3 separate regions of the Homo sapiens genome follow, and all the other regions are linked to region 1. Evidence: promoter capture Hi-C in 16 types of primary human blood cells and fetal thymus (Javierre and others, 2016). All regions are on one chromosome and are shown on one strand. The core of a region is centred on a gene start or on the middle of the fragment in contact, and the rest is flanking DNA. Distances in the headings are between cores, read along the strand shown. Region 1 holds the start of CRNKL1 (crooked neck pre-mRNA splicing factor 1). Region 2 overlaps SNX5 (sorting nexin 5). Region 3 overlaps MGME1 (mitochondrial genome maintenance exonuclease 1).

The links. Contacts are between HindIII fragments. The CHiCAGO score rates a contact against its expected background, and 5 or more counts as called.
Region 2: a contact is called between a fragment that was not itself captured here and the fragment with the promoter of CRNKL1 in region 1, in 1 of 17 cell types (total CD4 T cells). The highest score is 5.3, in total CD4 T cells.
Region 3: a contact is called between a fragment that was not itself captured here and the fragment with the promoter of CRNKL1 in region 1, in 3 of 17 cell types (naive CD4 T cells, naive CD8 T cells and total CD8 T cells). The highest score is 6.1, in naive CD4 T cells.

The regions. Positions count from the first base shown.
Region 1 is chr20:20,050,999-20,053,890 of GRCh38, forward strand. It overlaps CRNKL1 (crooked neck pre-mRNA splicing factor 1), which reads right to left and starts at 1,468. Exons shown (of 14, transcript NM_001278628.2): 1 at 1,294-1,468. The coding sequence starts at 1,344. It overlaps CFAP61 (cilia and flagella associated protein 61), which reads left to right and starts at 1,534. Exons shown (of 27, transcript NM_015585.4): 1 at 1,534-1,593. RefSeq lists enhancers at 1,323-1,492, 1,503-1,802 and a silencer at 1,893-1,942. The HindIII fragment of the contact is 2,238 bases long and covers 1,425-2,892 here.
Region 2 is chr20:17,952,683-17,955,574 of GRCh38, forward strand. It overlaps SNX5 (sorting nexin 5), which reads right to left. Exons shown (of 13, transcript NM_014426.4): 3 at 2,683-2,793; 4 at 1,314-1,435; 5 at 1-28. Among named protein-coding and RNA genes, the nearest start is that of SNORD17, 8.8 kb to the right of the region's middle. The HindIII fragment of the contact is 888 bases long and covers 978-1,865 here.
Region 3 is chr20:17,972,467-17,975,358 of GRCh38, forward strand. All of the region lies in intron 2 of MGME1 (mitochondrial genome maintenance exonuclease 1), which reads left to right. Among named protein-coding and RNA genes, the nearest start is that of MGME1, 4.9 kb to the left of the region's middle. The HindIII fragment of the contact is 5,566 bases long and covers 1-2,892 here.

The sequences.
Region 1 (2,892 bases), core at 218-2,717:
AATTCTTCAACTTATTTAATGCCCCGGTGTATAACTGGGTTTGGTTTTACATGGCACTTCAAGTCAAAGGCAATTTCAGTAAGTTCTCATCATTAGACTGTAAGCTTCTTGAGGTCTTAGAAGCTTACAGTCTAACGTAGCTTAGAGCTGTGCTGTCCAACACAGTAGCTATGAGTCACATGTGGTGAGTACAAATTGAGGTGGACTGTAAGTGTAAAATACACATTGGTTTTGAAGATGAAGTATAAAAAAGAATAAACTACCTCATTACATTTTTTATACCGATTACATGTTGAAATGATAATATTTTGGATACATTAGCTCAAATAAAATATATATTATCAAAATTAATTTCACTTTTTTGCTTTGTTTTTACTTTTTAATGTAGATATGAGAAAATTTAAAATTTCATATGTGGTGTGCATTATATTTCCATTGGACCAGTGATGCCCAATAAAAGTTTATGTAGCTGAATTATAAAAAATGTTACTTAATGCCACATGTGGAGTAATGATGATAATGGTGATAGCTCATATTTAATAAGCACTAAGTGCCAGACACAGTGTTACTTGCTCTATATGCATTACTCCTGCGAGTCAGACAAATAGTTATGTAAAGGTCCAGTTCAAGAGAGTCATCCGGGCTCAAGAAAGACTGGAGGGAGGGTATCTGTAAAGGCTTCAAAGTCTGCCACATATTAAGCACTTGGTAAGTATTAGCTATCAAAGGAAATACCAGATAGTAAGTCTACTGTTTAATTAACTTATGATACTATACTACTCCTACCGTCTACTCTCGCCCTCCGCTGTCAGCTGGGCTAACTCCTATTCAGCCTTCAAGTCTCAGCTTAAAGGTCATTTCCTCAGCAAAATTTACTTTCAGGACCCCTTCATACGACCCCCTTATTCACGCCCATGGCATATTCTACTTTGCCTCTCGGTAACATCTAGCAAGGTCGTCTTTATACAGAAACTCGTGTTTTGAGTACTGCTTGTGGCCAGCGTACGAGCGTAGCTTCCCAGCGCCCAGTGCAGTGCCTGGCTCAGTAAATCTTCACCGAACCACCCCACTCCACTCCCCAGCAAAACCACCCCAGAACGAAGGCCACGCCAACGCGGGTCGTGCTCCGCGATGACAAGAGCCCGCGCCCCACCACCAGCTGCCCTTCCTCTCCATCTCTCAGGGTGAGCCTTCTCCCCGGCGGGAACACTCTCTCCCAACCCGGGCACCCTCAGGGCTGAGGGATGCCCCTTTCCTAGGCCACCTCCTACAAGGCCCCTCGCGATCGCCTACCTTGGCCACTTTGGGAATCCGCTGCTTCCCGGCCGCGGTGGAGGCCGCCATGTCTGCAGCAGTCGACCTCTGGACACCTGTCCCCGGCACGGACGCTAGAAATCGGCTCTGAGAGCTCACCGAAACCACAAAGCTTTCAGAAAACAAACAGGATCTCGGAACCGGAAGCGGAACTTGCAGGACTGACCTTTGACCTCTCGCTTGAGCCGTGACGGAGGCGGCACCGTTTCCATGGTGACCAGGCTGCGCGTCCTCCTTGCGGCAGCGCGTGGAGTGCGGCGTCCTGGAGCTGCGGATGAGGTGGGTAACGCCGTGCTGACTAGCAGCGACGCAAGGACTGCGGTGCAGGGCGTCCAGGGCGCATCCCCAGGTCAGCCTCCGGAACTGGGATGACCAGGCGAGGACGAGTGGCTCTGTCGAGCCGTGGCGCCCTGCAAGGGAGTAAGAACGGAGCTCCAATCTGGATGCTCGAGGGCGGGGGAAGAAGGGAGAGCGAGGAAACTACCATTCCCAGCATGCGACGGGGCGAGCTGCCGCCCTTTTAGGCTGCAATGCCTCGAGCATTGCATTCTAGTAGTCTCTGGGTCCACGCCCCCTCGTTTCTGGTTTCGGGACAGTTGTGCCCAAATAATTCTAAGGTGCCCAAATAATTAACTCTAAGGCTTGGAATTAAAAATAACAGAAGGTACTTTGAAGCCAGATATTAGGAAAAAATATAAATAGAGTAACTGGAAAACAACTCAGTCTTGTGATAAGAAACATGTTTAAATTCTGTGTGTGCCTTAATTACTCTAGTTAAATTTTCTTAGCCTCAATGTCCTCAACTATAAAACAAGGCTAATAACATCTGTTTCACTAGGATTAAAGACAAATGCTCAGTAGATGTTAGCTGTTATAATACTTAACCTGCCCTCAAAAACTGAAAAGCAAAGGTTAAGAGAATTTTTTTTAATAGACATTTTTAGAGAAGTTTTAGGTTCACAACAAAATTAAGTGGAAGACACAGAGATTTCCTCCCTCCACAGCTTCCTGCTATCAATTATTGTACCTCTTCCCTCCTCTAACAGCCTCCAACTCTTAAAAATATCCTCCACCAGAGCAGTACATTTGTTACAATCTTGAACCTACATTGACACATCATTATCACCCAAAGTTCATAGTTTATATTAGGGTTCACTCTTGGTGTACATTCTATGAGGTTGGACAAATGTATAATGACATGACTTGGCAGCTCATTTGTTAGGATAATTTCCACAGTTGCAAAGCTCTTTTGGTGTTTGGGGAAAATATATATTTATGTATGTAGTAATATCACGTCTACCAATGCAGATATTACTTTCAACAAAAGATTTATGCAGATTTCTAGAACTGCAGTCAGTTATAACCAACATCAATGTATTTGCCATAACTCTTTATTAACCATATTATTTAGATATTTTATCTCACTTTTCAAAATTTAAATAGAGAAGATTTTATATCACTTTCATAAAGCCACCTAACAAAATAAATAAATATTAAAAAGATGTTTCTTTGAAGTGATTTTCCTTAAATGTGTTACTGTAAACAATTGATTTACCAAATGAATCATTGGTTTAATCA
Region 2 (2,892 bases), core at 172-2,671, 2.1 Mb before region 1:
AGTCTTCTTAAACACAGCGAGATACTCACTGAAAAGAGATGTGCACATGGCATTCAGTTGACACAGCTCAACTACCTGACCAATACCACTCCTGATTAATTCTATGGCCCTGCTCATGCCACCACATAAAACACTGCAACTGGACCAAACAGTATTTCAGTATAAACTGGTGTCTAGTTAGATACTAAGGCAGTTGCCATTTTTGAATCTGTGGAATAAGACTATGGAGGAAAGCAATGTTGTAACTGGATTTGATGGGTCAAGTCCATGAGCTCCTAAATCTACATGCAATTACTGTTACTTAGTAGCCACAGAACATTTGTTTCTTTAAAGCAATGAGAACCCTTTAACTGCAGCCTAAGTATACAGCATGAGTCTAATGAAGCTAAAAGTTAACAAAAATTACAAAGCAGCTTTATCTCAACCTAGACATTAAAAGTCACCTTAAAATTCCTAACGGTAGAAACTTGGATCTGTTGTGTTCAGTGCCTCATTCCCCAGAGCTGGTCCCGAGAGCCACTCAAGTGTGTGCTAAATGCTTTCAGGGCCTGGAGGTTTGAGTGCTGCCCTAGATGACACAGGGGTTTGGAGAGGGGGAGCTGATGGTTGAAGAGGGGAGGAATGAGTACTTTTCAGCTAAGATGAGGAAATGCAAGGATGGATTCATAAGAAACTTTCCAAAAATCTATTTTTGTTTGAAAAAATTAAATGACAACCAGATTAAAATATACTTGCTGCCTGTAGACCTGGACTTCCTCTTTCAAATTATCTATGTGATGGTTACTGAGAATGCTACTCTATAACAGCACTATTTGGCCTGGCCCAGGGGCAGCTCACTATAATCTCAGCACTATGGGAGGCAAAAGCAAGCTGATCACTTGAACTCAGGAGTTCGAGACCAGCCGGGGCAACACATGACGAAACCCCCAACTCTCTAGTTTCTTCTCAACGTCTAGTAACCAAGCTTCCGAAAGAAAAGCTTTGTACATTATGAGCAATTTATAAAGGCACAAAAGTTTATTTCCTCACTGTGCCAGACCAGCATCCTTAATAAGTATGCCCTACATATGGGAAAAGACAACTACTCTATCGGGTATTAGTGTCAATGGCCTCCAATGAATCAATGTGTGAAGTACAAAGACCATGTCCCACACTATGCAAGATGTATTACTAGTTTTAGAAAACGACGCTAGGGACCTAATTAAACAGCTGCACTTAAAACAAAATTAAGTCAGGTTCTTCTACTTATTTTTGTACACAGCACCACTTTTCTACTTCTCAAAAGACAGAGCCCACCAGGAAAATCCACTTACGCTTCCAGTTCTTGTTTCATCTTGGCAAATTCTTCTTTGGTCATAGACCCTTCACCTTCTCCCAGTTTCTGCATCTTCTCTCGAGGACCATCAAAGTCGGGCTTCGTAGGAGCAGGTGGAATCTGCAGCAGAGGCAGGAACTCATGAGCCTCTTGTCCCAGCAGCGATGTTTTCTAGTTGGTGCCTCATTCTACTCTTGCTGGTCCACAGGAGACAACCACTCCACTCCTGTGGGGCTATTTAAAAGTCAACTCCTGTTTTTTCTTAACCTTCCTTAACTCTTCTGGACATTTAAAATGAGGTGTCTTCCTGAGAGTTGCATATTCACTTTGATGGCAATCATTTGTTCAGTTTATCCATTATAGACAATTGTTCAGAGCACAACAGTGTCTATACTGCTTCAGTGTTCGCCTAAAACTAGTACAACGAATGCTAAGCACCAAAGATGAGCCATCAAGATTATAAAGTGTTCAGTATTCCAAAGGAATTTTTTCCTAATCCCAAAGGATAATCAAGGACTCTAATTTTGAATGAAAGACATATCTAAATATAAGCTTCGGTATTAATTTTGTTTAATGATTAAGCAATCATCATTTGGAGAGCTTCTTCAGTCTGCCTGGCAGGACAAAACGCGTGGAAATCTCCTTTAAAATCAGTTAAGTCTGTTCCTGCCGCCAAGAAATAACAATCAAGGGCTGAAAACTGCCTCCTTGAGCACTTTTTTTGTTTTTGGGAGAAAGAGTCTCGCTCTGTCACCCAGGCTGGAGTGACGTGGCACGGCCTCGGCTTACTGCAACCTCTGCCTCTCAAGTTCAAGCGATTCTCATGCCTCAGCCTCCCCAGTGGCTGGGACTACAGGTACGCACCACCACGCCCAGCAAATTTTTTGTATTTTTAGTAGAGACAGGGTCTCATCATGTTGCCCAGGCACGTCTTAAAATTCTGAGCTCAGGTGATCCACCCACCTTGGCCTCCCAAAGTGCTAGGATTAAAGGCATGGCCTCCTTCAGCAACTTTTGAGAAATCTTATCACAAACTATTACCAATAGCAGTGTTTCCTAGAAATCAATTCTACTGACATAGGAAAAAACATACCAGAGAAAAACCAAACCTAAAGGTAGGTAAGACTAAAGTCATTACACTGTTCACACCCCTTTACAATGTAAATAATGTAAGCCTGTATGCACCACCTCAAAGCTGTAACACTATTCCTTCACATACTTTCCACTTGACAGTCAGCAAATACTCCAGTAGGTAGATGAAATCTAACTTTTCACAATCCATTAAAAAAAGTGGATATAAGTCTCTTTTAAACTAATGCATAGCAAGGCAGAAAGAACTAGCTTATTTGATTTTCTAAAAGACTCACAATAAGCCCAGCATAGTCTGTTGTTTCAATAAGAGTGTCATGTAGCCACACAAAGTCTTCATGTTGCCTTGTAACAGAAAACTCTGGGCTCTGAAACGTGGGCAGTGTGGTCTGTAAAGAAAGAAAGAAGTTAACTGGTAACCACGACTTTTAGATAAGTGATCTGGGTTTCCTAGGCTACACAGTGGGAAAATTCTGCATAATACATCA
Region 3 (2,892 bases), core at 134-2,633, 2.1 Mb before region 1:
TTAATCCTGAAGTATTAGCCATCCTGCCAGTTCCATCATGAGAATACTGGAGATGCATGAAGGTTTTTTTTAGTGCACTTCATATACGAGGACTTGAAAACATTTCACTTTCATTACTTTGAGTGAATAAGCAGACTTGATGCTACATGCAGTGAATATTCTTGGATCATTTTTTATTTTTATAAATTGAATCATGTTGAATGTTCTGAGCCTTAGTGTCTAAAGGATCCTGTAATCTAGGTTTTCATGTTTGTGATCATGTGTATATGAAGAACCTAGCCAGGGGTAAGTTTGCAGCGAGAAATGTATGGTCTATTGGCATGGCATTTGCTAAGTTTTTTTCTTCCTGTTTTTAACATGTTTGTCTTCTGCTTCATTAACCTAGTGTGTAGATGAATGCTATACACTTCTTTTTCCTAGGCTTTAATTCCATCAGTCATAAATTTCTTGTAGGTCTTTCACGTGTTAATAATTCCAATTGAGTCAAGTAAATTTGGAGTAGAATAACTTAGTTCCTAAGTTGAATTTCATTTAACTCTCCAAATAATTTTTCAGAAGGGATTCCATTTTTTGCTAATGATAGAATTGACATTTCCAGCTGGGCATAGTGGCTCATGCCTGTAATCCTAGCACTTTGGGAGGCCGAAGCAGGCGGATCACTTGAGGTCAGGAGTTCAAAACCAGCCTGGCCAAAATGGCGAAACCCCATCTCTACTAAAAATACAAAAAAATTAGCCGGGCGCAGCGATCACTTGTAATCCCAGCTACTACGGAGGCTGAGGCAGGAGAATCGCTTGAACCTGGGAGGTGGAGATTGCAGTGAGCCGAGATCATACCACTGCACTCCAGCCTGGAAAAAAAAAGAATTGACATTTCCATCTTTGTAAAAAATAGTTGAAGGCCGAGTGCAGTGGCTCATGCCTGTAATCCCAGCACTCTGGGAGACCAAGGTGGGACGATTGCTTGAGGCCAGGTGTTTAAGACCAGCCTAGGCAACGTAGAGAGATTGCATCTCTACAAAAAAAAAATTTTTTTGAATTAGCCAGGCGTGGTGGCACATGCCTGTAGAGGAAGCTGAGACAGGAGGATTGCTTAAGGCCAGGTGTTCAAGGTTACAGTGAGCAATGATCGAGCCAGTACACTCCATCCTGGGTGACAAGTAAGACCCTGTCTCAAAAAAAAAAAAACTTGACAAATGTAAAGTTGTTTTCCGCCTTTTCTGTGGGTCTCTCTGCAAGCATGTTCCAAGCACGTGTATTTCCTGCTCTGTTTCTCTGAGTATCTAATTGGTGATTTCCAAGATTGCTTCCTTTGCTCTACTGTGTGGTAGATTGGAAACAGATTCTGGTGCCAGGCTGCCTGTCCAGCTTTTTGCTTTGGGGCAAATTAACAGCACTGCCTGGTGGGATAGGGCCTCATTCATTAAAATGGGGGTAACTTACAATCCCTATTTTGCTGGGTTGTTGGGTTTGAAAATTAAATAATGTTTTGAAAGCTCCAAGGCCATTGCTTAGCATAACAGTCCCCCCTCTTTCTCTCCTCTTACTAAGAAACAAGTGAATATATTTCTTGTGTTTGTTGAGTCTCTTTGTGTGTTTTTTTTTTTTTTTTTTTTTTTGAGATTGTCTTGCTCTGTCACCCAGGCTGGAGTGCAGTGGCATGATCTTGGCTCACTGCAACCTCTGCCTCCTGGGTTCAAGCAATTCTCCTGCCTCAGCCTCCAGAGTAGCTGGAATTACAGGCATGCGCCACCACACCTGGCTAATTTTTGTATTTTGAGTAGAGACTGGGTTTTACCATGTTGGCCAGGCTGGTCTTGAACTCCTGACCTCAGGTAATCCGCCTGCCTTGGCTGCCCAAAGTGCTGGGATTATAGGCATAAGCCACCATGCCCGGCCATGTTCCCTTTTTTAAAATGTGTATGAGGAGGGGGCTTACTATGCAAGCGCTTGGAGGCCAACGAGCACTGAAAATGAGGAGAGAGTTCAAAAATCAAGTTAGATCCTGGGATACGCCAACAAATCCAGACACTACAGTTCTTTCGGAGAAACCTGGGGACGAAAAGTAAGGCTTTGACCTCAGAAAATGAACATACAGGAAAAATAATGTGTCCTAATGTGTCCTAATGAAATTTCTCTAGTATTCACATGTTATAAAATGTTAGGAAGAAAGAAGATGTGTCCTCCTACAAGCCATAAATCAGAATTCTAATAATCTAAAGCTAATTAGAAAAATATTACATGTTAAATATTAAATATTAGAATAGAAAAATGTATGAGGGAAAAAAATTGAGACACAGCTGAATTTTTCAGGCTGTTCCAGCACTAAAAAAAAAATACAGGAGAAGAATGTCACATATTTTCCTCTTCCTCCCCCTCCAGATTCCATAATATCAAATTCATAACTTTTCATTTGCGCATGCCTTATTTTCCATTCCTTGTTTGTCACTAATCCTGTTAGTAAAAGGATTCCCCCACCTATGTTCATAATTAAGTTTTGGTCTAAAAAGAACTACAAACAGAAGCACAGTTCCCTAGATTTCTAATTTTTTTTTATTTTATCACAGCCAGTTAACTTATTACATTGGATACTTAAACACATAGTACCATAAACTGGATGTGGTCTTGTAGCCGCCAGATCTTCAGTTTTGACTTTGGCCCAATTCTCCTAGAAGTACTTAATTTTAATTCATTTTATTACCTAACGTCCTATTAATAATCCCGTTGGTTTCAAAGTATATTCTTAGGTTTCACAAGAGGCTGAAATTTGGTCTTAGGGGTTGTCACTTAAAAATAACTAATGTAATTTTTGGCCGGGCACGGTGGCTCATGCCTGTAGTCTCAGCACTTTGGGAGGCCAAGGCTGGCAGATCACGAGGTCAGGAGTTCGAGA